5 separate regions of the Homo sapiens genome follow, and all the other regions are linked to region 4. Evidence: promoter capture Hi-C in 16 types of primary human blood cells and fetal thymus (Javierre and others, 2016). All regions are on one chromosome and are shown on one strand. Each heading gives the region's core, a stretch centred on a gene start or on the middle of the fragment in contact. The rest is flanking DNA. Distances are from core to core; before and after follow the strand shown.

Region 1 (5,468 bases), core at 590-3,089, 810 kb before region 4:
ATATGCAAATACTACATTTTATATAAGGGACTTGAGCATCCTTGGATTTTGGTATCCTCAGGGGTCCTGGAACCAGAACACCCACCACAAAGAGATCACCATACAAGTTCCTACACTTTCCTCAAAGTGGCTTAAGCCACTTTGAGTTAGATTTTTTCCTGTCATTAGACATCAGAAAGATTCTAAATACAAATATTCTTTTTTATTTTATTTTACAGAGGTGGGGGTCCTGCTATGTTGGCCAGGCTGGTCTCGAGCTCCTGGGCTCAAGTGATCCTCCTGCCTCTGCCTCCCAAAGTGGCCACCACACCAGGCCAAGATTCCAAGTACAAAAATTATTCTGACACAGACTTCTCACTATCTCAAGTTGAGAGCATGGTACTAAGTTACCTTTCAATTCTAAAATTCACCTGTTACCAATTCACTATTTTTGTTTGTTTGTTTGTTTGTTTTTGAGATGGAGTCTCACTCTGTCGCCCCGGCTGGGAGTTCAGTGTGTGATCTTGGCTCACTGCAACCTCTGGCTCCTGGGTTCAAGCAATTCTTCTGCCTCAGCCACCCAAGTAGCTGGGATTACAGGCGTTTGCCACAACGCCCAACAAATTTTTTTATTTTTAGTAGAGACAGGGTTTCGCCATGATGGCCAGGCTGGTCTGGAATTCCTGACCTCAAGTGATCCGCCCGCCTCGGACTCCCAAAGTACTGGGATTACAGGTGTGACCCACTGCACCTGGCCACGTATATATATTTTTTAACTTAAAATTTAAAAAATGTTTAATTTAAAATTAAAAACAAAAAATGCTGGGCACAATGGTTCATGCCTGTAATCCCAGCACTTTGAAAGGCTGAGGCGAGAGGACCACTTCAGGCCAGGAGTTTGAGACTGGCCTGGACAACATAGCAAGACCCCCCCGCCCCGTACAAAAAAATACAAAAATTAGCTGGGCATGGTGTTGTGCGCCTATAGTCCCAGCTACTTAGGGGGCTGAGTTGGGAGGATCACTTGAGCCTGTGAGGCAGAGGTTGCAGTGAGCTGAGATTGCACCACTTCACTCCAGCCTGGGGCACATAGTGAGACTCTGCTCAGAAAAAAAAAATTTTCAAAAAAGAAAGAAATTACTGATGGCCAGGTGCTAAGAGTTTTGTATAAGGTTTAATGTTTTTGTTGTTGTTGTTTTGTTTGTTTGTTTGAGACAGATTCTTGCTGTGTCACCAGGCTGGAGTTCAGTGGCATGATCTTGGCTCATTCCAACCTCCACCTCCCAGTTTCAAGTGATTCTCCTGCCTCAGCCTCCTGAGTAACTGGGACGACAGGCATGCGCCACCAAGCCCAGCTAATTTTTGTATTTTTAGTAGAGACAGGGTTTCACCATGTTGGCTAGGATAGTCTCAATCTCTTGATCTCGTGATCTACCCGCCTCAGCCTCCCAAAGTGCTGCGATTACAGGCGTGAGCCACTGCACCCAGCCTGGTTTAATGTTTTATGTTTTGGGGGGCCAAGATGGGAGAATCGCTTAAGGCCAGGTGTTCTGAAACCAGCAGTTTTACTATTGTCTCTACAAAAATTTAAAAAAACAAATTAGCAAAGTGGTGCTGCATGCCTGTAGTTCTAGCTACTCAGGAGGCTGAGACGGCAAGGATCTCTTGAGTACAGGAGTTCGAGGCTGCAGTGGGCTATGATTATTTCACTGCACTCCAACTTGGGCAACATAGCAAGACCTTGTCTCTAAGAAGAAAAAAAAATTTTTTTTGGCTATAATCCAAGCACTGTGGGAGGCTGAGGCAGGCAGATCATCTGAGGTCAGGAGTTTGAGACCAGCCTGGCCAACATGACGAAACCCTGTCTCTACTAAAAATACCAAAATTAGCCAGGCATAATGGTGCGCGCCTGTAATTCCAGCTACTTGGGAGGCTGAGGCAGCAGAATCCCTTGAACCCAGGAGGCAGAGGTTGCAGTGAGCCAAGATACCACTGCACTCCAGTCTGGGCAACAGAGTGAGACTCCGTTTCAAAACAAATAGATAAATAAATAAATAATAAAATATTTAATGTTTTAAATATTGTGATTGACTTCAAGTATCCGTGAAGGAAAATCTTAAACAGTATGAACCTTCACAGGCTGGGCGTGGTGGCTCATGCCTGTAATCCCAGCACTTTGGGAGGCCGAGGCAGGTGGATCACCTGAGGTCAGGAGTTTGAGACCAGCCTGGCCAACATGGTGAAACTCCATCTCCACTAAAAAATACAAAAATTGGCTGGGCGCGATGGCTCACGCCTGTAATCCCAGTACTTTGGGAGGCCGAGGTGGGAGGATCACAAGGTCAGAAGATCGAGACCATCCTGGCTAACACAGTGAAACCCCGTCTCTACTCAAAATACAAAAAATTAGCTGGGCATGGTGGCACTCACCTGTAGTCTCGGCTACTAGGGAGGCTGAGGCAGGAGAATCGGTTGAACCCAGGAGGCAGAGGTTCAGTCAGCCGAGATCACACCACTGCACTCCAGCCTGGGCAACAGAACGAGACTCCGTCTCAAAAAAGAAAAACCCAAAAATTAGCCAGGCATGGTGGCTCACACCTGTAATCACAGCTACTCTGGAGGCTGAGGCAGGAGAATCTCTTGAACCCGGGAGGCAGAGGTTGCAGTGAGCCAAGGTTGTGCCACTGCACTCCAGCCTGGGCCACAGAGTGAGACTCCGTCTCAAAAAAAAAGTAAAAATTTTTTAAAAAAGAGCATGAACCATCACAATAGTTCATTAACTACATGGTTCAGTCAAGATCCTGGCAGAAACCAGATGGCACACTTAAAGAGTTAACCACATAGGGAATTATGTACAGGGGTGTGGGCAGAGTTAAGGAAACCCATAGTGGGTAAGGGCAATCCCAAAGGCAGCTCGTAGGCCCAATGGGGCAAGGAAGGGAGCAGGGTTACCAAAAACAGCCAGCTGCTGTTGCTGTGGGAGATGAGCTATTATAGCTTTAGATAGAGGAACTGTGGCAGCCCAGTTTTGGGGGTGTGGGGCTAGAACCACTCTCTCCATTGTCCCATCTTTTAATGGTGACATCTTTTGCTCAAAACCAACTGGAAGCCTGAGGGCAAGAGAGCTGGGTGATACAAGTCTAGAGGTTGGTTGGCCAGGGCACAGAGCAGGGCTGAGAAGGCTAGAGAACTGATCTAGGGTTGTGCTGTCCAATATGGTAGCCACAGGTACCTGTGGCAAGTTTAGTCCTAATTGAGATGTGCTGTAAATGAAAAATACATGCTGGATTTTAAAGACTTTGTATGAAAAAATAATACATTATTTCATTTGATTTCAAGTTCAAATAGTTTTGATGTACTGAGTTAAAAAACTAGATTAAGGGCTGAGTACAGTGGCTCACACCTGTAATCCCAGCACTTTGGGAGACCGAGGCAGGCAGATCGCTTGAGCTCAGGAGTTTGAGACCAGCCTGGGCAACATGGTGAAACCCCATCTCTATCAAAAATACAAAAATTAGCTAGGCATGGTGGCAAACGCTTGTAGTCCCAGCTACCAGGGAGGTTGAGGTGAGAGGATCACTTTAACTCGGGAGGCAGAGATTGCGGTGAGCTGAGATCATGTCACTGCACTCCAGCCTTGACAACAGAGCGATACCCTGTCTCAAAAAAATAAATAAATAAATAAATAAATAAAATAAACTATATTAAAATTAATTTCAGTCAGGCACAGTGGCTCACACCTGTAATCCCAACACTTTGGGAGGCTGAGGAGGGCAGATCACCTGAGGTCAGGAGTTCGAGACCAACCTGACCAACACGGTGAAACCCTGACTCTACTATAAATACAGAAATTAGCTGGGCATGGTGGCGGGTACCTGTAATCCCAGCTACTCGGGAGGCTGAGGCAGGAGAATCGCTTGAACCCGGGAGGCAGAGGTTGCTCCAGCCTAAGCGACAGAGCAAGACTCTGTCTCTAAATAAATAAATAAATTTTGGCCAGGCGCAGTGGCTCATGCCTGTAATTCCAGCAATGTAGGAGGCCAAGGCGGGTGAATCACTTGAGGTCAGGAGTTTGTGGCCAACATGGTGAAATCTCGTCTCTCTAAAAACACAAAAATCAGCCAGGCATGGTGGTGGGTGCCTGTAGTCCCAAGCACTCGGGAGGCTGAGGCAGGAGAATGGCTTGAACAGAGGTAGTGGGGGTTGCAGTGAGCCAAGATCCCACCACTGCACTCCAACCTGGGCAATAGAGCAAGACTCTGTCTGAAACCAAAAAAAAAATTAATTTTATCTGTTTCTTTATACTTTTTAACTGTGGCTGCCAGAACATTTCAAATTAGCCAGTCAAGGTGGCATGGGCCCATAGTCCCAACTACTCTGGAGGCTGAGGCAAGAGTAATGCGCTATCATGGCACTACCAGTAGCTACTGCACTCCAGCCTGGACAGCACAGCAAGACCCCACCTCTAAAAAAATTACATATGTAGCTCTCATTCTATGTCTACTGGACTGTGTTGATCTACAGGGACAAATAGAAAATAAGCACACACAATTACAATAGATAGTCATTTAAAAGGTCATTTTAGTTCTGTATCCTGGACAACTATGTGAAAAGAGTGTTTTTACAAATTACATAGTTTTAAGCTTTTTAAAACTTAATTGCTTTGGTGGCCGGGCACGGTGGCTCATGCCTGTAATCTCAGCACTTAGGGGAGGCAGAGGCAGGCAGATCACCTGCGGTCAGGAGTTCGAGACCAGCCTGGCCAACATGGTGAAACCCCATCTCTATTAAAAATACAAAAATTAGTCCAGCGTGGTGGCAGGCACCTATAATCCCAGCTACTCAGGAGGCTGAGGCAGGAGACTTGCTTGAACACCAGTACTCGGGAGGCAGAGGTTGCAGTGAGCCAAGATTTCATCATTGCACTACAGCCTGGGCGACAGAGCATGACTTTGTCTCTGCCAGGCATGGAGGCTCATGCCTGTAATCCCAGCACTTTGGGAGGCCAAGGCAGGTGGGTCACTTAAGGTCAGGAGTTTGAGACTAGCTTAGCCAACAAGGTGAAACCCTGTCTCTACAAAAATACAAAAATTAGCCAGGCATGATGGCGGATGCCTGTAATCCCAGCTACTTGGGAGGCTGAGGCAGGAGAATCGCTTGAACCCGGGAGGCAGAGGTTGCAGTGAGCCAAGATCACGCCATTGCACTCCAGCCTGGGCAACAGAGTGAGACTCCGTCTCAAAAGAAAAAAAAAAAAAGATGCCATTTCCAAAAAAAACACCTTAATTGCTTTGATACTTTGAGATACCACCCTTCTATGTACTTTTTACCATTATAATATTTATTATACCTAAAATAATGAACAATAATTCCTTACTACCAAATATTCAATCAGTTTTCAAATTTCCCTTATTGCTTCATAAGTATTTCTACTTTTATTTTTATTTTTGAGACGGAGTCTCACTCTGTCACCCAGGCTGGAGTGTGGT
Region 2 (5,949 bases), core at 2,107-4,606, 520 kb after region 4:
AAGCAGCAGGGGCATACGCATGGCCCTGGAGATAGATGCACAAGAGAGTGGAGGAAGAAAGGAGCAGACCTGAGATGGAAGGGAGATTTATATTGTAATCAATTATCAAGATTGGTGAGGTGAGGATGGCTGAGGGGACAAATAAGAGGAAGGCAGGAAGAGGAGGCCCTGTGGAAGGGTGAAAGACAATCCGGGTTTGAAAAGGTGAGGGAGGAATCTGAGAGGCAGGATCTCACAGGATACTGGGCAAGGGTATGAGAGGAGAGGCCTTAGAATGGGAGGGTGTGCAAGTTATACAGGATTGCTTCATGCTGGGATGGAAGGAGCCGATTCCATTGAAGCTAGTCACATCAAGAGGTCACTAAATGAAGGACAAATTATATGAAGGTTTCAGGTCACAGAATGTGGCTGAGGATGGCAGAAGGTGGGGTGGTGGGAGTAGAACACTGAGACTAAAAAATAGGATGAAAGGCAACTGGGCTAGATGGTTTTAGAGCATACAGACTTGTGGATTCCTGGGGCTAAGGGACTTAACAAGATGAAAGGATTTGGGGTAAAGTGCCAGTGAGGTGGGAGACACTGTATGGTGAGTGAGTTCACAGGGAAAGGGCTGGAAGCGTCAAAGATTCATAGAACAAGAGATATTTGGGCAAAGGATGAAGAGAGAAGTTGACTGGGTTCAAGACACTACTCCAAAATATGGCAACTTGAGAAAATGGCAGTAGGAAGGTCACTCTCACTTTCTCTGAGGCTCTTCTCCCCTGAAGCAGATCACAAAACCTAGGAAGGATTTTTCTGACTTTCCCCTGAAGCAGGTCATAATACCCTCCTCATAAAGAGGTGCCCTCCCTATACTCAGAGGAAAGAAGCACCCTTATCTGTGAAGACACAGGGACACAGAGAAGAGTCTGAACAAACAGGCCTTGCTAAGTTTCTCCCAGTTTATTACTATTTGATATTACCCTTTTTGTATTTTTCCACAACTATCCACTCTTCATCAGATCTAGTATAAAAATATACAAGTTTAATCATTTCTTTAGGTCTTCATTTCCTTATGAAGGCTCCTGTCACATAAAACTTACATTAAATAAATGTATATAATCTTCTCTTATTAAATCTGTTGTTATAGGGGCCTAAGCCATGAACCTAAGAAGATATTTTCCCTCCCCTACAAGGTGCAGGGGCTTCAGGGGATATGAGATCAAAAGTCATGAACAGCAGGATGAGAAAGTCACCAAGTTACATGGCAAACGGTAATAGAAACCTTGGGGGTCAGGGCCAGTCTTGGTGGCTCACGCCTATAATCTCAACTACTTGAGAGGCTAAGGTGGGAGGATCTCTTGAGGCTAGGAGCTCAAGAACAGAAACCTTAGGGATCAAGGAACGAGCTGATGTTGTATTTAGGAATTACTAGAAAATAAGGAATAAGGAGCTGAGGTTGAGTAAGTCTGGGGGAAAGACAGGCAATGGAGTAGGGTTTTGTTTTGTTTTTTTAAACTGTGGGTTCAAATCTTAGCTCTGCTACTTAGCTGTGAGAGTTTCTGGTTCATTTCTCTGAAACCAACCAACCAACCAAACAAAAATATGGGAAGGGAAAATGGTGGATATAATAATAATTAACTCTTGGGGCTGTTGAGACGTAAATTTAACTTATATATCCAGAGCTTGGCACACAGTAGGTATTCAGCAAGCCAATCGTTATTGAGGCAAAATCAGGGTAAGAACCAGAGAAGTGAGGCTACAGCAGAGATGAGAAGATAGGGATTCCAAGATGTCAGTAGTAGCAACATAATGCAAGGTATGGGCCACATGTTCAGTCTGTTAAATCCCTAGCACTCAGGACAGAGTAAGATCCATAGCAGCTTCTCATTTCTAACAACAGCTTATGCTAAGGGTTCCCATGAGCCAGGCATGGTGCCCGGTGCTTTACATATGTTATGTCAGGCACTACTATTTTCTCCCTTCGCAGAGGTGGAGACTGAAGTTAAGACAGGCTAAATAATATACCAAAAGTCCCATAGCTGAAGGGCCAGAATCAGTCTGGAACCTAGGTTTGTTATGAACTCAATGCCCCCAAATGAAGCACTCTGCTATACTGCTTTGCAAACATGTTAACTGATGGGGCCTGATCAAGGGAAATGGGTATGCACTATGAAGAGTGAAGAGGGTGATCCGGGAATGAGGGAGTAAGGTTCATGATGCAAGCAGATCCTGGGATGAGGTTACAAGAGGAAATTTCCAGGGTGGGGTACAAAAATGATTGCAAAAAATTATTATCTTGACTGAGAACTGCATAATTTCACAATTTCACAGACGGAAGGAAACTCAAAGATCATCTAACCCAACCTCATCACAGTCATGATGAGAAACTGAGGTCCAGACTGAGGAGGGGACTTCTCACAGGTCCCTAAAGCACAGCAGTGACAGAGCTGGGACCACACACTGGATTGACTGGATTCTGGATTGATCCAGAATTCTCTGATGCCTCCAATTATTACTACTTCATATTAATCTCTATATCCTCCTTAGCACCAGAAAGGTGCTGGACGCTTGTAAGTCATGTGCTGATTGACACTGAAGGGCTGGGATCGCAGAGAGAGATGCCAGTGGGGGTGATTTTAGGATAAAGGCAGACGTGGAACGAGGGTCATACGGCTACAGGATAAAGATACTGAGGGTTGTGTACAAGGTGAGTGCGTGGAAAACTATTGGAGTAGGGCTTAGGAGTCGCCAGCAGAGTTTTGAGGGGAGTCACCGAGTTTGTGGGGAACACAAGGTAGAATCGGGGGGGTTACTGGGCCAGGAGGGTTACCCAGGTTTGGGGGTCACTAAGGAGGAGTGTGGGGATCTCAGGGTCATGTGAGTCACCGGATTAAAACTGAGGGAGTCACTGGTTGGTGGGTCTCTGAGAAGTGCTGGGGAAATTCCTGGGTTAGCAGCCAATGAATAATAACCAACGGTTACCTGGTGAGGTCTTGGGGTCAGTGGGTGGGGTGTGGGGTCACAAGGGTGGAGGCGGGCGCCGTCACGGGGTGAGGTTTGGGAGTCACGGGGGAGGAGCCGCAAGGCGGAAAAGAGGGGCAGGGACCCTGGGTGGGGGAGGGGGCCCGGCCGCGGTCCAGCGGCCAGGCCGCCCTGCTAGGGCCGGAGGGAGGTGGGCACGCCGGGCTCGGGACCTTCCCGGGGTCCTGCGCCCGCCCGGCCTCCCGCCCTGGGCATGGTTGGCCCACTCCTCCCGCAGCCACCAACCTGACAGCCCCCGAGGGCGACTCCGCCGACAGACCGCCATGCACCGGGCCCCGCCACCAGCGCCGGCCCCACAACCCGCCTGCGCCATAGCCCGCCCGCCCGCGCGCAGCTTGCCTCGCGCGATATCCAGGTTCCAGGGCCGCCGCACTTTCCTTTCCTCTTGGCGCGCCTCTACCGGGCCCCGGAACCCGTATAGAAAATACCGGGCACGGTCCACCCCGCCCCCCGCTTCGCCGCGGCAGCCATCCAACTTATCCTGGTTCCGGGGCTCCTGGAGCCCAGGCGGCCGGGATCTGAACCGAGCTCTTCGGAGCCCCGCCCCCACCAAGGCCGGGGTGACGCATGGCCAGCGAGGCTGAGCGCCCAGGGAAGGCGTGCTGACGTCACGACGCCCGGGTCAGGGCCTGGGCGCGGCTCGGAGCCGGGTCGTCGCTATAGCAATCGGGAACCGCTACCTGTCCATTCCAAGGATTCGGTCCAGCAGAAGCGTGAGGAGGTGGCGGAGGCCCCGAGGGCTTTGCGTCATCACTTCTGCGGCCTGCGGGCGAGAAGGTGCGCTTCGGGAGTAGCGCGGGAGGACAGGAGGCGCAGGTTGTGAGGGACGCAGGCCCTGGGGCTTCGGTCTCTGTCCTCCGAGCTCAGAGCCTCCAGGCTTCTTCCCGGCCGCGCGCTCAGCACTCACTGTCTTACGGTCCCGAAGCGCTTTAAGGTGCGCAGTCCGCAGGCCTTGCCTACTGATCTTCCAGCCACCCCTTGAAGGAAGCAGTTGCAGGTATTAAGAGCTCCTTATTGAAAAGGACGATGTAGAGGGGCGGTGAGGGACTCGCCTCCGCAGGGAGGGCGCCCTGGCGGTCTTCTCAGGTTCTCTCTCATTCCCGCGTCAGCTCCACCGTCAGGCTCGAAACCGACTACTCCCTTTTGTAGGCTTGCTTTGGGTTGAACATAAAAACCAAGCCCCTTTACTATTTCCCTGCTGGGAGGGGCTGCGATTGGGAAATTTTCAGAAACCTGAGGGAAAATTAAAAGGGAGCGAGCTTTCGGTAAAAAATCAAATTAAAAAGGAGGGGCGTTAGAGAAGGAACTGGTAAAGATTGCCTTTTAGGAGAGGAACTGGGTGGCTGGAAGAATGAGGTGAGAAACTTTCCCCTCTCTATCCTTTCAGACTTTAACTGGTTTCTTTTGTATCTTCCCCGCCCCGAAAACAATTTAACTTAATAAGAATAATTTTTAAAGGACGTAAACTAGACACAGTTACAAAGTACGGGGTTTGGGGCTTGTGGTAGCTAAAGGTGTCTTTGGGGATGCGGGCATCCTTTTCCTCTCCTGCCTGAAGAGCTTAACTAGAAAGCCCCCCTTTCGGTCTTAGACATCCCCTCTTCCTGACTTGTTCTGGCTGGGACCAGAGTTCAGTTTAGGTAGGCCAGTGAGTGACATTTGATGGTTAGAATTCCTACGGTTAGAATTAATCCCTTCTGTATCTCCTAGTATGGAAATAAACTGCCTGGCCACTATGCTGCCCTCTTTCCATTCCTTTTTGGTGGAAGTTTGACAAGTTATTTCCCATAGAAAATAACTTATAGGCCGGGCGCCGTGGCTTAAACGCCTGTAATCCCAGCACTTTGGGAGGCTGAGGCGGGCGGATCACGAGGTCAGGAGTTCGAGACCAGCCTGGTCAACATAGTGAAACCCCCCCTCTCTACTAAAAATACAAAAAAATTAGCTGGGCGTGGTGGCGGGCGCCTGTAATCCCAGCTACTCCGGAGGTTGAGGCAGGAGAATTGCTTGAACCCGGGAGGCGGAGGTTGCAGTGAGCCAAGATCGCACCATTGCAGTCCAGCGCGGGCAACAGTGTGACTCCGTCTCAAAAAAAGAAAAAAAAAAAGAAAAAGAAAAAGTACCTTATAGATACAGAGAGAAGATTAAGTAGCTCCTCTTATAATATGAATTGAGGGTTAGAAATACCGCAGGGAATAGAACTCAGGCTGTACCTGAGTTTGTCCCTCTCCAACCACCCTTTTTCCATAGCTCTCTCTGTATATATATATCTGTCTTTTCTCACATTCCTTACGGATCGTAATCTGATGGCCAGTCACCTCTGCAATTATACATTTAACAAGAGCTCTGGGAAACAGTGTCTGAATCTGAAGTAATGATCCTAATGGAAGGTAATTTCAGGTTCTCAGGAGAATTGGTGAGGATATTTTGGAGGGCAGTATTGAAGACCATTGCTAGCAGTTTCTCTCCTATCCCTTCCACTCAACATATAGGCTGGTGATCTTCAGACATTTTTTAGAATGAACCCATAAAAGAATTTTGAAGAGCTATGTACCTCTTGTTCATTTTTAAGTTGATACCTAAATTTTCCTTCATTAATTTAAATACTTATAGAGGATACAATTTCAAATTTTGACATCTTAAACTAAGACTTACATCATTCTTTTTTTCTGAGACGGAGTCTCGCTCTGTCAACCAGGCTGGAGTGCTGCAGTGGCGAAATCTCAGCTCACTGCAACTTCCCCTTCCAGGTTCAAGCAATTCTCCTGCCTCAGCCTCCCGAGTAGCTGGGACTACAGGTATGCGCCACCATGCCTGGCTAATTTTTAGTAGAAACGGGGTTTCATGGTGTTAGCCAGGATGGTCTCGATCTCCTGACCTCGTGATCCGCCCGCCTTGGCCTCCCAAAGTGCTGAGATTACAGGC
Region 3 (5,234 bases), core at 281-2,780, 610 kb before region 4:
TTTCTCATACTTTGCTATTATAAACCATGATTAAATAAGTAACTATGTATACTTTGGATATTTGTTGAATAAATTTCTGGTAGGCAGATTGCTGGGTGAAAGGAAAATGCATTTGTAAATTTGCCAGACCCCGCTGTGGGGTTGCACCACTTTACCTCAGCTTTTCCAGCAGATTATGTTAGTAAACTTTTAAATTTTTGCCAAATTTATGGGTAAAAATTTCTATCTCAGAATAACTTTAATTTGCACATTTAAAATAGTGAGTTTGTCTGAGCATCTTTTTCTTTCTCTGCTGCCCAGGCTGGAGTGCAGTGGCACAGTCACGGCTCACTGCAGCCTCCAACTCTCAGGCTCAAGCGATCTTCCATCCTCAGCCTCCTGAATAGCTGGGGCTACAGGTGTAGCCCCACCATGCCCGGCTAATTTTTTAAATTTTCAGTAAAGACAGGATCTCACCATGTTGTTCAGACTGGTGTCCAACTCCTGGGCTCAAGCGATCCTCCCACCTTGGCATCCCAAAGTGCTGGGATTACAGGCATGAGCCACTGCACCCTGGGCATCTTTTTGTATATTCAGGAGCCATTTGGCATTTCCTTTTATGTGGACTGTTTATTCATATCCTTTGCTCATTTTTTTTTCCTACTGGGTTTCTGGCCTTGTTCTTACTGGTTTCTTATTGCTGGCCTAGAGCTTGTGATGATATACCAGTGCTAAGCCTACTTTGTAACAGCGTCTACACCCTCAGATTTTCAGCAGAAGGTTGTTAATGCTTTTCTTTCCTTTTCTTCGGTGTCTTCTGGTTTGTTTTTATGCGCACAACCTCTCTTGAGACAGGGGGAGCTGAGACAGATGGAAAGGGTGATGGGTGGGCAGGCACCAACCCCGGAGCACCCAGAGGCCCAGGAAAAGGTGTCAGTCGGGATCTCCGAGTAGTCTGGCCCTGCTCAGGAGAGCACAGCCGCTCTGATGGTGGTGCGACGGTTCCGGACCTGTGGGGCCTCAGCGGGGCCAAACGGCAGGCCGAGACAGTATCGGGGCCGGGAAGGTCACTCACCCCTAAAGGGAGAGGCACCATGCGAGGCCCCTTCCTATCCTATGTGCGGAGACTCACAGGGTCCTTCCTGGTCCTGGGCTCGGGACCGTGAGAGACGCAGTTGGTTCCGAGTTCAGGACTAGGGGTCCCCTTAGATCCTCAGATCCTGCAGAATCCCGGCTCTGCCCCAGTGGGAGCCAAGGCCAGGTCGCCAGAGGGACTGTCCGCCGGCTGGAGGCTGTGTGCAGGACCCACGCCTCCCAGGCTAGCGAGCGGGCAGCGCCCCGGTGCTGCGCTCCCACGGGGCCGGCCCCTGCCCTGCCCTGCCCTGCTCCTAGCCCGCAGCGGCGCAAGTGGAACCGCATCCCGCTCTTTCGTTTTCGTTTCCCGGAAGGATAGCGATTACCGGAGCGCCTCGCGCGCCTGCCCGCCTGCGGAGGACCCGGGCGCACACGCCTTGGCGCTTCTCGAAAGAGATTTCCTCCCACGCGACCTTCCAGTTCTCGGAGCCAGGTTAGGGGTTTGGCGGAGGAGGACTGCGGGGCGCGGGCCTAGGGCCCCAGCAGCCACAGCCAGGGGAGCGCTCAAGACAGAAAGCCGGTGGCTTCCTCACCTCCACCTGTAATGCAGGTAAGAGCCTGGCGGCTGAACACGCAGCGCGCACGCAGAGCCACCTGCTCCCGCATCCTTTCCTCACCACCTAGATTTCCAAACCTATTTTATCAGACCTTTTACCTGGCGGGAATCTCTCTTTCCAACACATTCCTAAACCTCACATCCATCCCTCACTCACTTCCCCTTCCACCTCCAGACGCGGGTCACCGCCCCTGACTCTCTCGGTGTCATACACAGCTCTGAAGGCATCACGCACAGCCCCTGCGGGCCCTTTCCGCAGCCCCCTTACCACTGGTCGCCCCTACACCAACCAGATGTGAGGTCTTTGGAAGTTCGTGCGCCAGCCAGGTCCTCACAGCTGGTGAACGCATTCTCGCAGGGAGCCCCTCTTTAGCAGCCTCTCCCCACTCGCCGGTTTTCTAGGTGCCTCGAGACTGCCCCCAGAGCTGGCGCCCCGTCCCACTCCAAGGCCTTTCTCCACTCCCCTCTCGCCAGGACCCATACCCATTATCAGACCCTTCCCTGGCCTCCATGCTGAAACCCAGGAGTCTGATCCTCAGCAGCTCCGTGGCTGGCGTTTCCCAGGCAGTTACAGCCTCGGAATTCCCCGCTCCTCTTACTTGGATGAGGACAGAGGAGTAGACAAAGAGCCTCCTGCAAGCCTCCTTGGCAAGTCCGAGGCAAGTCCTGTGCCTTGAGCCCCTTCTCCAGCAAGGCAAGCTTCCCTTTCCCCACCAGGAGGCAACCCCTGAGGTCTGATTACTTGGGAAACAGCACCAAAGGGGGACCGGCTGGAAATGAAGTGAGAACGACCCGGAAAGGTGTTGAATCCCCTTTCGCAGCAGCCAAGGCTTCTGGAGTTTGCTTTGCTGGCTCCGATCCAAATTCTCTCTCGGCAGATATCTCTCCTCGGATCCCAAGAGATGAATGTAAAGCTTTTGACAATCCTAGAGTGAAAAATGACTTGATGGAGCTGGTTTCACTTTTCCTTTCCGTGCTGTGGCAGCCTGTGGCTGGGCATGAGCCCGAAGGAGCTTCCTATTCCTACAAAATCCTGCCACTTTCTTCATTTTCTCATCTGAATGGATGAACCCCGTCATCTCTGGGGGCCATGCTGATTGTTGAATTGTAAAGATACAGGCTTCCCGTGGTGAGACCTTAGGATTCAGAAATGTATCCTTATCCTTTCTTTTTCTCTTTTGAAAATAGTGTTTGTTTGTTCTGAGACGGAGTCTTGCTCTCTTGCCCAGGCTGGAGTGCAGTGGCGTGATCTTGGCTCACTCCAACTTCCGCTTCCCGGGTTCAAGTGATTCTCCTGCCTCAGCCTCCTGAGTAGCTGGGATTACAGGCGCCGGTCACCACGCACGGCTAATTTTTGTATTTTTCGTAGAGATAATGTTTCACTATGTTGGTCAGGCTGGTCTCAAACTCCTGACCTCAAGTAATCCACCCGCCCCAGACTCCCAAAGTGTTGAGATTATAGGTGTGAGCCACCGCACCTGGTCTATTTGTTTATTTCTGATTTAAGGTCTTTTGATCCTGGCCCCTCAGGTTTCCTGTGTTGTCCTCACCAGGGATCCAGTGAGGATTCCTAGGCTTTCAGATTTCAATCATACAAGTCTTGGCAGGGGATCCCTCTTGGAGTTAGGCACATGCATGGAAAGCTTGAATTGGAAGGATGTCATTTATTGTGTCCACTGGGTACAAAATGTTGATGGTACTGAGTTGAAGATATACATGGTTCCTACCTTTAAGGTTGATGCAGTCTTCTGGTGGAGATAAACACTCTTTCCCTTCCAAAAAAATTCTTAAGACATTTAAAGATGGCTGAGCCTTCACCAAGATGCTCTTCTTTGACTGTCCTGGTTTTTCTCTCTCTAGGAGGGAGAATTGGCTATTTCTCCTATAAGCCCTGTGGCAGCCATGCCTCCCCTAGGCACCCACGTGCAAGCCAGATGTGAAGCTCAAATTAACCTGCTGGGTGAAGGGGGGATCTGCAAGCTGCCAGGAAGACTCCGTAAGTAGAGGGGAGGAGAAAAGCTGAGTTTTTAAAAGTAAATTTTTATTTTGTTTTAGATCCAGGGTCTTGCTCTGTTGCTTACTTAGGCTAGAGTGCAGTGGTGTAATCATAGCTCACTGCACCTTCAACTTCCAGCTCCTGGGTTCAAGTAATCCTCCCACCTCAGCCTCTCCAATAGCTGGGACTACAGGCACACTGGCTAATTTTAAAATTTTTAGTAGAAATGGGAATCTCAGTATGTTGCCCAGGTTGGTCTTGAACTCTTGGGCTCAAGCTATCCTCTCGCCTCTGCCTCTCAAAGTGCTGGGATTACAGGTCTGAACCACTATACCTGGCCCTTAAAATTAAATTTTTTTTTAAATAAGAGACAGGGTTGCTCTATGTTGCCCAGGTTGTTCTCAAACTCCTGGGCTCAAGTAATCCTCCCATCTCGGCTTCCCAAAGTGCTGGGATCACAGGCATGAGCCACTGTGTCTGGCCAAAATTTTATATATATCTCATACCATAACTTTGTATTGCATAAATATATACAATTATTATTTATAATTTGTCAATTAAAAATTTAATTTTTGCCAGGTGCCAAGATTAACTTACCTTCCCTCTGTTTGCTGTTTCTTTGCTGAGTTTTCTTTAGCTTTTTGTTTGTGATGGAGTCTCACTCTTGCCCAAGCTGGAGTGCAGTGATGTGACCTCAGCTCACTGCAACCTCCGCCTCCCTGGTTCAAGCGATTCTCCTGCCTCAGCCTCCTGAGTAGCTGGAACTACAGGTGTGTGCCACCACACCTGGCTAATTTTTGTATTTTTTAGTAGAGATGGGGTTTCACCATATTGGCCTGGCTGGTTTTGAACTCCTGACCTTGTGATCCACCCGCCTCGGCCTCCCAAAATGCTGGGATGACAGGTGTGGGCCACCGCACCCGGCCAAGGTTAGAAATTTTAACACAACTTCTAAGAAACACTTTCTAATAGTGAGGTTCAAACACAAGACCCACAACTCTCCTCTGAGCCCTGGGAAATCCTATTTCCCTAAGACCAAACTTCCTAAGCTCAGAGGCTCACTAAATATCTATTGAATGAATTAATGAATGAATGACTAGGGATCTTCATCAAGAACACCAGGACCTCCAAACAATGCAGGATCACTTCTGTGGGCCCTTCTGAGATGGTCACCAGATCTTCCTGCACACTTCTAGGGACAGGCATTTCCTCCCCTCTTGAGGCAGCCTATTCTCTGATTGCATAACTCAGGGTGCAGGTCACCGTGGCCTATTTTCTCCTAGATTAGAACTCCTGAGCTACCAGTTCTGTTGCCTTGGGTTAGATTTCCCCAGGAGCAGACCCTAAAACACTGGTGAGGAGTAGGGAGGAAAGACAGAGAAGAGAAGGAAATCCCAAAGGTGTTCTTTTGGTCCAGTTAGCACCACGGGGATCTCTGGGGACAGTGAATCCTAAGTTATTCCAACCAGTGGGTAAGGGGATTATCCACTCACTTCCCTTCCATGACAGCATGAATGCTGTTTCCAGGGGTATTGGCTCTCCAGCATTTCCAAGTTACCCTGTACACTG
Region 4 (5,587 bases), core at 743-3,242:
CTGGACTGCACACTCTCCTTGCCAGGACCACATAATCTTCCCAACAGCCTGGTGGGGTAGGTACTTTAGCCTCTCCTTGTAGATGAGGAAACTAAGGCTCAGAGAGCCATGATGACCTGCTTGAAGTCACAAAGATAGGGTGTGGAAAAGTCAGGATTTAAACTCAGGTCCAACTGCAAAGCTGTGGTCCTGCCACTGCAGTGCCATGCTCCTCTCAAGAAATCATGTCACTGTGGCAGGGAGATGGGGACTAGTAAGGGGAAGGTCATTTCCTACTTACCCTGCCTCAGTGGTGTGAGAGAAGAGATATTCATTCATTCAACAAGCATTTATTGGCCGGGCACGGTGGCTCATGCCTATAATCCCAGCACCTTGGGAGGCCGAGCCAGGTGGATCACCTGAGGTCAGGAGTTCAAGACCGGCTTGGCCAACATGGCAAAACCCCATCTCTACCAAAGATACGAAAATTAGCCAGGCATAGCGGTGCACCCCTGTAATCCCAGCTACTCGGGAGGCTGAGGCCCAAGAATCGCTTGAACCCAGGAGGCAGAGGTTGCAGTGAGCCGAGATCATGCCATTGCACTCTAGCCTGGGTGACAGAGCGAGACTCCATCTCGAAACAAACAAACAAACAACAATAAGCATTTATTGAGCACCTACTATGTGCAGATACTAAGCTGGGGGTAGGTGCTTCATAGATGAATATGATGCGATCCCTGCCCTTGAAGAGTTCCAACCACTGGGAGAGGCAGAGAAAAGACATGGCCAGTTAGGGAGATACATGGTCTGCTGAGGGTCTGACCCCAGGGTACAGGAGCTCCAAGGAGGGAAGCCTTCTCAGAGGAGGTGGCTGGAGTTGTTTTGCACCATGAGTAGGAGTTTGCCAAGTGGAGAAGAAGAAGGGCACTCCAGACAGAGGTGAAAAAACAGGTGGGGCCAGGTGTTTTTTTTTTAACCTCCCTGCCCGCTTCTCTACTTGCCAGAAGTTGCCCCATACTAGGGCCTCACCTGGGGCAAGCAGATCATGGTTATTCTGGCCCTGGGGGCACAGAAGGCTCCACCGGAGTCCAAGTCCATGAGGCAGCAGCCACTGTAGCACTCAGAGTGGTGGAAGCACCTGTCTGTGATTTTCTGTGGGGACAGGCAGAATGTCTGCCAGGCTGGGAGCAATCCCTGAGTCGTGTGGGCGGGTAGGGGAGGGTTCCCACCATTGCCAAAGAGCCCAGGGATCCAGGAGAAGTCATGAGGTTGTCACCCCTTGGGGGGCTGGTTCCCCCCCCAGCCCCACCCCGGCCCCTCAGCAGGACCCAGGGCAGCAGAGAGGAGGAGAGGGGGATTAGCACTTTTCCCTCGGCCTCTCCTTTCCTGGACCCCCCTCACCTCCATGAGTCCCATGGGGTGTGTACTCTTAAGTCCCATTTTGCGGGGCAGGGTTGGGGGATGAGAATGAAGGGGCTGCGGGCTCGAAAAAGAGGGAGAGAAAGAGGAGAAAAGGGGAGAGCCCTCGTGCCTGGAAGAATCACTAGACAGTGAGAGGAGGTGGAAGAAGAGGAGGAGAAACCAGAGCATGCAGGGTGGGTTTGCCTGTGAGCAGTTTGGGGAGGGAAGCGAGCCCAGGACTGAGGCCATCGGAAGGGGCACGGGCGGGGGAGGTGGAGGGAGCGAGGGTGCTGGTCATAGGCCAATTTCTCTCCCCTCTGAGGCCACCAGGGGAAAGTGAAGCGGCTTTTGAAGTCCGTCTGAGGATGCCCCAGGCTACCCGCCTGGGTGTGGTTCCGGACCCACCTCTCCCTTTCAGGCTGCCCGGCGCCTTCGGGCTCCAGTGCCCCGGCGGCGGGGCCACCCTCTCCTGCGGTCGCGGCCGGCTGGGCGCGCTCCCCGGCTCACCTTTTTATATTGCGGAAGCGCGCTCCAGAGGGGCAGCACCGCCCCCGACAGGACCCCCGCCACGAGCGCCAGGGCTGCGGCCATGGGCCTGGGCGGCAGAGCAGCGGCGGGGTTCCGAGGGGCCGCGGGATAAAACCTCTTCCCCGGCCACGTGACCCGGCGCCCCAGGCCACCCCGGCGGAGGAGGGACGTGGAGGGCGAGGACGCCTGCGGAAGGGAAGGAGGGAGGAAAGGCGCTCAGGCTCGCACGGGCGGGATTCCAGACTGTAGGGGCCCTGGGAGCCTCCATACGTGTTACTTCCAAGTAGAAGCTTGAAACTGTAAGATAAAACTCTATTTTTATTGTAAGATAAAACTCTATTTTATTGTATTTATTTATTTTACAGACGGAGTCTCGCACTGTCGCCCAGTGCAGTGGCGTGATCTCGGCTCACTGCCATCTCCGCCTCCCAGGTTCAAGTGATCCTCCTGCCTCAGCCTCCCGAGTAGCTGGGACTACAGGTGTGCGCCACCACGCCGGGATAATTTTAAAAATTTCTGTAGAGACGGGGGTCTCCCCATGTCGCCCAGGCTGGTCTCTAACTCCTGGCCTCAAGTGATGGTCCTGCTTCAGCCTCCCAAAGTGCTGGGATTACAGGTGTGAGCCACCGCACCTGGCCTCAAAACTTTATTTTTATAAACGGCACAAAACATATATGCTGAAATAAAAAGAGCTTCCTTCCTGATGTTGATTCTCTGTCTGCCCTTGCAGCCCCAGATTCTCCCCTTACCTTCGGGATAATCCAGCCCCACCCTCTGGGCTGCTCACACCCGCTGCAGGCCCCATTCTCCTCTTCTGTAAGAACCAGGAGGTGGGACAAGATGGTCTCTAAGTCTTAAATCTCTTGCAGTCTTAATCATTCTATTAATTGTCTAAGGATTTGTCTGTGAATTGTGTGAAAGTCAAGATGTGGGGGCAAAATGGAGAAGTGGGAAGAGAAGAAAACTCAGAATAGGGAGGAGGGTTAAGGGAGAGCTAGAGCTGCACAGAGCAATCCTGGAACCGGGGGAGGCAGGCCTTCCTCAGGACTTCCCTATGGATGAAGCTTCCACCTCACCCCACCTGCCTGCTTCTGCTTTTTTTTAATTTCTATTTTTTTTTAATTTTGTATTGTTAATATTTGTTATAGAGACAGGTTGTCCTTATGTTGTCCAGGCTGGTCTTGAACTCATGGGCTCAAGAGATTCTCCTGCCTCGGCCTCCCAAAGTGGTGGGATTACAGACGTGAGCCACCACTCCCAGCCTGCTTCTGCTTTTGAAGTTTCGCTTAAGAAATGAACCGAGGAATCCTGTCTTGGTGGGGAATAACAGCCAAGAATAACAGCCCCCACCGCACTCAGAGGGCCTTGTATCCATTATTTCCGTGAGCCCTCCCTGTATTAACACTAGCTGTCACAGAGTAATTAACACTGGCTGTAACAACAGAACTCCTGGAATTTCGTGGCTTGGCACAATAATGCTTTATGTACAGTCTGATTTGGGGCAAGATACCCTTCTTCCATCCTGTAGCCATCTATAAGACTGGCCTCTGGCTGGGCATGGTGGCTCATGCATGTATTCACAGCACTTCGGGAGGCCAAGGAGAGAGGATCAGTTGTTTTGGGGGTTTTTTTGGTTTTTTTTTTTTTTTTTTTTTTTTTTTTTTTTGAGACAGAGTCTCACGCTATTGCCCAGGCTGAAGTGCAATGGCACAATCTCGGCTCACTGCAACCTCCGCAAAGTGCTGGGATTACCAGTGGGAGTCACCATGCCCGGCTGAGAGGATCTCGTGAGCTCAGGAGTTCAAGGCCAGCCCTGGGCAATATAGTGAGACCTCATTGCTACAAAAAAAATTTAAGAAATTAGCCAGACATGGTGGCACATGCATGTAGTCCTGGCTACTCGGGAGGCTGAAGCTGCAGTGAGTTATGATCGTGCCACTGCACTCCAGCATGGGCAACAGAGTGAGACCCTGTCTCAAAAAAAAAAAAAAAAACTAGCATCCAAGGTCTCCATGGAAGACCTGCCTTCTCCACTCACAAACCACCTGCTGGAACTAGTCACATGATCCCAACCCTCTAACCTTCTGCAAGGGAGGCTGGGAAATTCAAAGGAGTCTTGGAATATTTAGCATCTACTATCATTTCTGCTGCGTAACTCTTAGCCCTGTTTTACAGACTAGGAACCTGAAGGCTCAAGATAAAGTTACTTGCCCAAGGAACAGGATTAAATGGCAGAGTCAGATATAAATCCAGGGCATTCTAGCTCCTGGGTCCAAGTTCTTACCACTGATCTACACTGCTGCGGGCGGCCAGAGGGCTTTGGCCCTAGTAAGGGGGTTCCCATCATTACCTAGTAAGGGGGCTCCAGCAGTCGCGGTCTGAGCTCTCTTCATATGTGTGTTCTGCTACCTTGGCTGACTAGCGACCCATCCACGCAGACCATTTGTGAACTGGAGAGGAGGCCTGGGGATGGATACTTCCTTGTACTGCTTCACCGGCTTCCTTTGCCCATACCCCCATGACCGTTAGATACTTGAGAAGTATTGTTGACTGCTTAGGAAAGTGGCAAATTTGAAGGCAAGGGGCCAGCAACTGCGTGTCAGGGTTAGCAGCCCCTGGGGAACCCACTGAAGGCCCTGAGGGGTGGTGAAGCCCCTGGAATTCTGTACAAAATATTATGGGCATGGCTTTTTTTTTTCTTAAGCCAGAGATCTTCCGGTTTCCTCAAAAACAACTAGTTCAGAACCTTTATTTTCAGTTGAGGAAACCGAGGCCCAGAGAAGGCAGGGACTTCTCCCAGTAACTCAGCTGGTGAGTAGCAGAGCCAGGCCTAGCTCTGCTCCTGACTCCAAGTCCTGTACCATGGCCTGCCAGCACCGGTCACAGGCACATGTCCAGGGTACCTCTGCATTGCGGGGGAGTAGGAACAAGATCACCAGGGTCTCCAGCGCCGGGAATCCCTGAGCTGCCTGACCTGTGAGCATGGCCACAGCTCTGCCCAGGGCCCAAAACTGGCCACCTCAGACTTCAGTGAGCAGAAGGGGGTCAGTTCAGGACAGGGGAGCACCTTGCTGGTGGACTTCTTACCCCCTATTTCCTGCCTCTTCACCTTCCCCTCCTCTGACAGTCTCTAACGTCTCACTTCTTTTCTTCTGCATCTTTCTGGTGGTGCAAGTGGTGGTTTCCATGACAATGTTCTCACTGGTCTGCAGCAAAATGAAAACAATAAGGATAATGTAGTAGTGTTTTTGTTAAAGGTAAATATATTCAATTTATTATTATTAAAAAAAAATTTGTTTTTGAGGTGTCACCCAGGCTGTAGTGCAGTAGCGCGATCTGGGCTCACTGCAGCCTTCGCCTCCTGGGTTCAAGCAAGTCTCCTGCCTCAGCCCCCCTCCAAGTAGCTGAGAATACAGGCGCGCGCCACCACGCCCAGCTAATTCTTGCATTTTTAGTAGAGGTAGCGTCTCAACATATTGCCCAGGCAGGGAAATGTATTTAATTTAAAAAGTAATTATTTATTCTGAAATTATGTCTTTTCTACTTCTTTGGTGTTAAAATGTGCTTTTATGAAATAATGGCGATCAGGGGTTCAAGACCAACCTGGCAACAAAGTGAGACCTCTGTCTCTACAAAAAATAAAAGAATTAGCTGGGCATGGTGGCATCTGCCTATGGTC
Region 5 (5,918 bases), core at 2,078-4,577, 560 kb before region 4:
AGTTGTTTCGGGGGGCCATGGGGATGCATTTCTGTTGTGTATCTATCTGGGGGTGGAATTGCTGGGTCACAGGGCAGGTGTTTGTTCAGCTTTGATAGATATTGCCAGCCGATTTTTCCAAGTAGTTGCACCATTTTCCACTCCCACCAGCAGCGTATGAGAATTCTGTTTGCCCCACATGGGCTCTGACACTTGGGATTGTCCGTCTGAGAATGACAGCACAGCAGTATGGCTGAGTCCCGCAGACATGCGGTGAGAAAAGCCAGGCATAAAAGAAAACATGCAGACCGATGATGCTCAAAAATAGGCAAAACTAATCTAATCTGGGAGTCGTGAGGGCAACAAGGTGGGTTCTGGGGTGCCAGGAATGTTCTCTTTCTTCATCTGGGTGGTGGTTACACAGGTTTATTCCCTTCGTGAAAATTCATTGAGCTGTCTGCCTGTGATCTGTGCACCTTTTTATACGTTATACTTAAATAAAAATTTTAAAGATATTCTCTCTCAATCTCCCTCTCTCTCCCTCTGCCATCTTCCCTCCCAGCACATGGTTGGGAACTGTCACCTTCAGAGCCCCCTTCAAGGCTGTGTGACCTGGACTGTTGCACAGGGTGTGCACTCAGAAGGGCAGGGGGCTTGGTTTAATGTTCTGCTGTCTGTCTTGAAACTATTAATACGTTTTGAACAAGGGTGCTTTGTTTTCATTTTGCATGGGGGCTCACTCGTAGTGTAGCCGACCTTGGCCCTGGGACAGGCAGCTGCCAGAGTCTGTCTCCAGATCGTGGAGATCGTCTCCAGGATATGGTCTTTGGCAGGCACTGAGCACAGGGCTAGGTTGCCCCCCGGACCCCTGATGGAGAAGGCGTGGGATGCCCAGAGCTGCCCATGATGGTTCTCCCTCCCGTGAGAACCTAGGAGCGTATGTACCTGCAGATGGGATTGCTGGGTACATGGGAGATGTCTGCACGGTGTGCCACGTGGCTGTCTGCCCCTCCCCTTCTTTTTATTGTGGTAAAATATGCATGACATAAAGTTGACTGTTGTAACCTTTTTAAAGTGTACGGTGCAGTGGCATTAAGCACATTTTGATTGTTGTACCACTCTCCACCATTGAACCATCTCCAAACTCAAAAGTTGAGTTTGAGTGTGCCTTGTGAAAATCCTCCACATCTCAAAAGTTGTGGAGATGGTTGAATGGTGGAGGTAGTGGTACCACATTCCTCTCAAACTGAAACTCTGTACGCATTAAACAACTTCCTATTCCCTTCTGCTTGCTTGTATGATTTTTCTCTGTGTGTTTCTCTCTTCCCAACTACTTTATGGACTCCATGAGGGCTGGGCCAGGCTGGGCATATTCACCTTGGAATAAGAAAGAACACATACAATACACACAGGGCCTGGAAGAAGTGGTTGACACAATAGTTTCATTAAATAAATGAAAAATATGTAATATTATTTAACATTTGTTTGAAGGCTGAGTGACTTCTTGGACTAATAAATTCTAAATTTAGTGCTGAGACAGTGTCTGTCACATAGCTGGATCCAAAACCTGTTGACAGAATGAATGAAGCATTAATAACTCTGTTGCCCGTAATAAAACATTGGCCCTTTATTGAGCCCTTACAAGTACCAGGCACTGTTAATACACAGAAAGAAAGATGTCTGGCACTCCATACATTTCCTTCCTTCCTTTCCTTCTCTTTCTTCCTTCCTTTCCTTCTCTTTCTTTGTTTCTTTCTTTCTTTCTTTTTCCTTCCTTCCTTCCTTCCTTCCTTCCTTCCTTCCTCCCTCCCTCCCTCCCTTTCTTCCTTTCTTTCCTTCTTTTTTTCCTTCCTTTCCTTCCTTTCTTCTTTTTTCCTTTGAGACAGGATCTCACTCTGTTGCCTAGGCTGGAGTGCAGTAGCACGATCATGGCTCACTGCAGCCTTGACCTCCTGGGCTCAAGCAATCCTCCTGCCTCAGCCTCCTGAGTAGCTGAGACTACAGGCATGTGCCACCATGCCTGGCTAATTTTTAAAATTTTTAGTAGAGATAAGATCTCACTATGTTGTCCAGGCTGGTCTTGAACTTCTGGGCTCAAGCAATCCTCCTACCTTGGTCTCCCACAGTGCTGGGATTACAGATGTGAGCCACCATGCCTGGCCTTCTTCTTTTCTTTGTAAGCATTATCGCATTTGGCCCAACTACCCTCTGAGATGACTACTTGTTTTATAAGTGAGCACAAGCTCAGTGACATCATGTCCCCTGCTGTGGTTACACAGCTGGCAGGTGTCTCCAGATGGGGCTGACTCCAAAGTTTGGTGCTTCCATATATATTTTGTGATGCCTCCCTGTGTTAATGAACCAAAACAGAATTTCTTAATATTTTTTTCTTTTTTTTTCTTTTTTTTTTTTTTTTTTTTTTTGAGACAGAGTCTCACTCTGTCACCCAGGCTGGAGTGCAGTGGCACGATCTCAGCTCACTACAACTTCTGCCTCCTGGGTTCAAGTGATTTTCCTGCCTCAGCCTTCCAAGTAGCTGGGATTACAAGTGTCTGCCACCATACCTGGCTAATTTTTGTATTTTTAGTAGAGATGGAGTTTCGCCATGTTGGCCAGGCTGGTCTCGAACTCCTGACCTCAGGTGATCCGCCTGCCTCAGCCTCCCAAATTGCTGGGATTACAGGTGTGAGCCACCGTGCCCGGCCTTTGCTTTCATTTTAATAAAACATGTTTTTCTTTTCTGATTATAAACATGTATTTACACTCTATTTTTTAAAATAAGGCATTACAGAAAGTGGAAATCTGACTTTTTAAGACTTCTTAGAATGTTCTCTCAAGATCCATGGCAACCCTTCCCGGGCATAGCAGATCTGGAACACGTGGCTCTTGTGGGCTCTTCCTTCTGGGTTGTCTCCAGGTCAAGGGATGTATGTATCCCATCGCTGACCTTTCTTTCTAGGTACCTCCCTCCCCACTAATCTTCAAAGATAACTGAGGGATGTTGTAAAGGCAATAAAGCCACCTCGACTTTCTCCCCCTAACCTGCATTTCCCATTAAGTCTTGTTTTCAACTCTACAGGTGGGGTTTTCCCCAGCCAGACCTTAGGTTATTTTCTGAGCTTTGGTTTCTTACTGGGGTTTGGGTGCAATAAGGAAGTTGACAAGTGAAACTGTTTTTTCCAGGGTAGCTGAGCTAAGCCTCTTATCATTGGAGGAGCGGGGAGCAGTCCTGGGATGGGTGGTAACAGGTGGAGGAAGGTGAGCCAGCCCATGGCTCTCTGGATTGGCTGCCATGAGCTCAGTTCCTGGGAGATACTGTATATATGGACGGCCAAAGCATCTTCTGAGACACTCAGAAAATTGCCAGCACCAAAGTAGTGGCATCTTCTCCCTGGGAGAGCTGGGTCTGACTTCTCACTGGACACAACTTCCAGCTGACAGGGAGCAGAGCCTAACACAGAGACCTCTTGTCTGAAGATCCCAGCCCAGGGTGTTCAGGACAGAAGCGATTTCTGTGGTCCAAGGTTGGTTGAACAATACCCTCTCCTTTGGGGGCGGGAGCAGTGGGTATGTATCTTGGGGTCCGGAGAAGAGTTTAGTCCTGGGTGTCAAACCAAGAGTCCAGTCCCAATGCTGCTTCCAGCATGCTGGGCCCTCCCAGAGAGGCAATGGGGGTGGAGGTGGGGGATCAGTTTTCTTATCTCTAAAAAGAGGGAGCAAGGTTCAATGACATTATCTCAACGGGGTGTTTCTCAAAGGGCTCTGGGCTCACTCGGACTTAAAACTCTGTATTCAAGTCCCAATCCTGCTTATTAGCCGCCACCCTGAGCAAGGAACTTCACTTCCTTGGGCCTCAGTTTTCTTGTCTGTAGGATGGGGCAGCATTACATAGCTCACCTGCTAGTTTCCCTCAGGATGTGGTAGAGGTCAAGTTATAGACTTTATGTGAAGGTACATGAGGGAACCCCCTGATAAATGAGAGGTGTTATTATGACCTATGGTTAAATTAAGGTTCTATGAGTTTTAAGGTTTTTGGAAGTTAGTCCAAGAATGGGGAAATCTTATTAAAATAACTCATGGTCTACTGCTCTCTTGGATGGGAATGTAGAGGCTGGGAGGTGGATTATAACCCACAGTCCTGACCGACTCCTCACACAGTGTTGCATTGCCCGTGGTCTTGGATAGAGGACAGAATGGGGTGGGGAGGGCATGGGTGTCTATACCTAGGCACACGTGATTGTGTGACTCCATGTGCATAGGTCATGGTAGGTGTGTATGTGACTGTGATTACCTCCATCAGTGTGAAATAGCAGGTTTCTCCCCTAAGTCCATGTGTAAGTGCGTGCATGTGTATCTATGCTTACATGAGGCCATTTGGTGTAGAATAGAGAATGTAGGATTTGAATCGGGAGAAGTGGGAGAGTCTCAGCTCTCTGCTTCCCGGCTATGTGACCTTGGGCGTGTCTCTTAATGGTCCGGAGCCTCAGTGCCCCACTGTTAGCCCATCTGATTCACTGCTCCTGGCAAAGATGAAATGAGATCATGTCAATGAAACGGCTCTCTGGACGCCGTGTGGCTGCATGAAGGTGAGCTGGTTTGGGTTTGCACATGCCTGTGTATCATTTGTTTGTTTCACAAACACTGAGAGCCTCCCAGGCTCAGGTCCCCTCTCATGGAATTTAGAGTTAGGACCGATGGCAAGCGGTGAGCTTGGTCACATAATTATTCCCTTACACTTGGGACAGGAGAAATACAGGGCGTCTTGAGTCCATGTTGGTCTGTGGTGTGCACAAGTGTGTTCTGGTGACACGTGGATGTCTGTGGTGTTGACTGTGGGTCCACGTGTGTGTGCCACACACTCTGTCCCTCAGGGTGCTGCTGTGGGTGTGCAGCAGGTTGGCTCTCTGTGAAGTTTCTATTGTGTGAATCATGGGGTGGAGAAGGGGAGCCGCGAAGTTATCTCCATGAAAGGCACCAGAGCAGTTAGAGAGTAACGCGGCCAGGTGAACAAATTAGAGAACAGCATAGAGATGAGGTCACCGTGCAACTTAGAAAGTAAACAACACACAGCAGCAAGCTTGGGGAAGGCAAGCAAACTTCCCGTTCCAGGGTCAGCTTTGTGAGCCTTCTCTGGTTCTTTGTTGCTGTTGCTGGACATGTCACCGGTAAATGTCACATCTTATCAGAAGCAGTCTTGTGATGTGCAGATCACTTGGGTATTTCTGAGCTGATTTGGACTTTGCTCTGACATCCACTTTCGGCCAAGGCAATAACAAGTTTACAAGATCAGCTGGGTTTCCGCATAGTGAGACCACGCTGCTCACTTAGGATTCCTGGTCTGGAGCACAGTCTGCACAGGGTGGGATTCCCTGGTGGTCGGACTGAACGTAGTTGAGCACCTGGGGCACAAAACAAAAAAAGAAGAAGAAAGGAAAGGAAAGTCTTGCTTTGATAAATCCTGGATAGCAGAATTTTATATTTGGAAAGTCTTGAACGGTTTAATTTTGGCACATGTAGGAAAGGGGAGGTTATTAGGATTAAAAGACAAGCTTCCCAGGGCTTAGAGACTGAGGACACCCCATCCGCAGAGGTTCTTCAGGGGTCTTCCTGGGGGCGTGTGGGTGTGTCTTCCCCAGTCAGCCGCGCTGTCTCAATCCCTGGCCTAGAGCTGAAGACAATCTTTGGAACATTACAGAGGAGGAGCAGTTGGAGCGGGGGAGAGGGAGGAGAGAGCTGGACTGAGGACAGTCACAGCCACCCAGAGAGGAAAGAGAAAAGAAGGAAGTAGGGCTGGTATCAAATACTGAAGCACGTAAGGGAGGACAAGACATGGGAAGAGGCCACTGGATTTGGAATTAGGAAACCTTGGGAGACCCTGGAATCTCTTCACTGGGGAAACTCTTGGATAGCAGAGGCCCCCTTCCTGCCTGCCTCTGGGC

The links. The method cuts DNA at HindIII sites, captures the fragments that hold promoters and counts their contacts. A CHiCAGO score of 5 or more calls a contact.
Region 1: a fragment that was not itself captured here is called in contact with the fragment with the promoter of CLPSL2 in region 4 in 1 of 17 cell types (neutrophils); the score reaches 5.1 in neutrophils.
Region 2: a contact is called between the fragment with the promoter of ZNF76 here and the fragment with the promoter of CLPSL2 in region 4, in 4 of 17 cell types (total CD4 T cells, erythroblasts, non-activated CD4 T cells and 1 more). The highest score is 11.0, in total CD4 T cells.
Region 3: a contact is called between the fragment with the promoter of ETV7 here and the fragment with the promoter of CLPSL2 in region 4, in 2 of 17 cell types (total B cells and fetal thymus). The highest score is 5.5, in total B cells.
Region 5: the fragment with the promoter of BNIP5 here is called in contact with the fragment with the promoter of CLPSL2 in region 4 in 7 of 17 cell types (neutrophils, total CD4 T cells, naive CD4 T cells and 4 more); the score reaches 8.4 in neutrophils.

Annotation. Positions count from the first base shown.
Region 1 is chr6:36,584,303-36,589,770 of GRCh38, reverse strand. No RefSeq gene overlaps it. Among named protein-coding and RNA genes, the nearest start is that of SRSF3, 7.3 kb to the left of the region's middle. The HindIII fragment of the contact is 5,571 bases long and covers 1-4,624 here.
Region 2 is chr6:35,257,142-35,263,090 of GRCh38, reverse strand. It overlaps ZNF76 (zinc finger protein 76), which reads right to left and starts at 3,356. Exons shown (of 14, transcript NM_003427.5): 1 at 3,250-3,356. SCUBE3-AS1 (SCUBE3 antisense RNA 1) reads left to right here and starts at 3,636. Exons shown (of 4, transcript XR_001744102.2): 1 at 3,636-3,801. RefSeq lists silencers at 2,924-3,243, 3,254-3,373. The HindIII fragment of the contact is 17,247 bases long and covers 1-5,949 here.
Region 3 is chr6:36,383,965-36,389,198 of GRCh38, reverse strand. ETV7 (ETS variant transcription factor 7) reads left to right here and starts at 1,530. Exons shown (of 8, transcript NM_016135.4): 1 at 1,530-1,663; 2 at 3,530-3,665. The coding sequence starts at 1,658. ETV7-AS1 (ETV7 and PTX1 antisense RNA 1) reads right to left here and starts at 2,579. Exons shown (of 2, transcript XR_926758.3): 1 at 2,269-2,579. RefSeq lists a silencer at 1,300-1,509 and an enhancer at 1,636-2,459. The HindIII fragment of the contact is 3,834 bases long and covers 1-2,370 here.
Region 4 is chr6:35,773,003-35,778,589 of GRCh38, reverse strand. It overlaps CLPSL2 (colipase like 2), which reads right to left and starts at 1,992. Exons shown (of 3, transcript NM_207409.4): 1 at 1,888-1,992; 2 at 1,009-1,131. The coding sequence starts at 1,971. It also overlaps the pseudogene CMPK1P1. RefSeq lists a silencer at 1,882-2,011. The HindIII fragment of the contact is 8,503 bases long and covers 1-2,200 here.
Region 5 is chr6:36,334,297-36,340,214 of GRCh38, reverse strand. BNIP5 (BCL2 interacting protein 5) reads left to right here and starts at 3,327. Exons shown (of 12, transcript NM_001010903.5): 1 at 3,327-3,503. The HindIII fragment of the contact is 11,027 bases long and covers 1-5,058 here.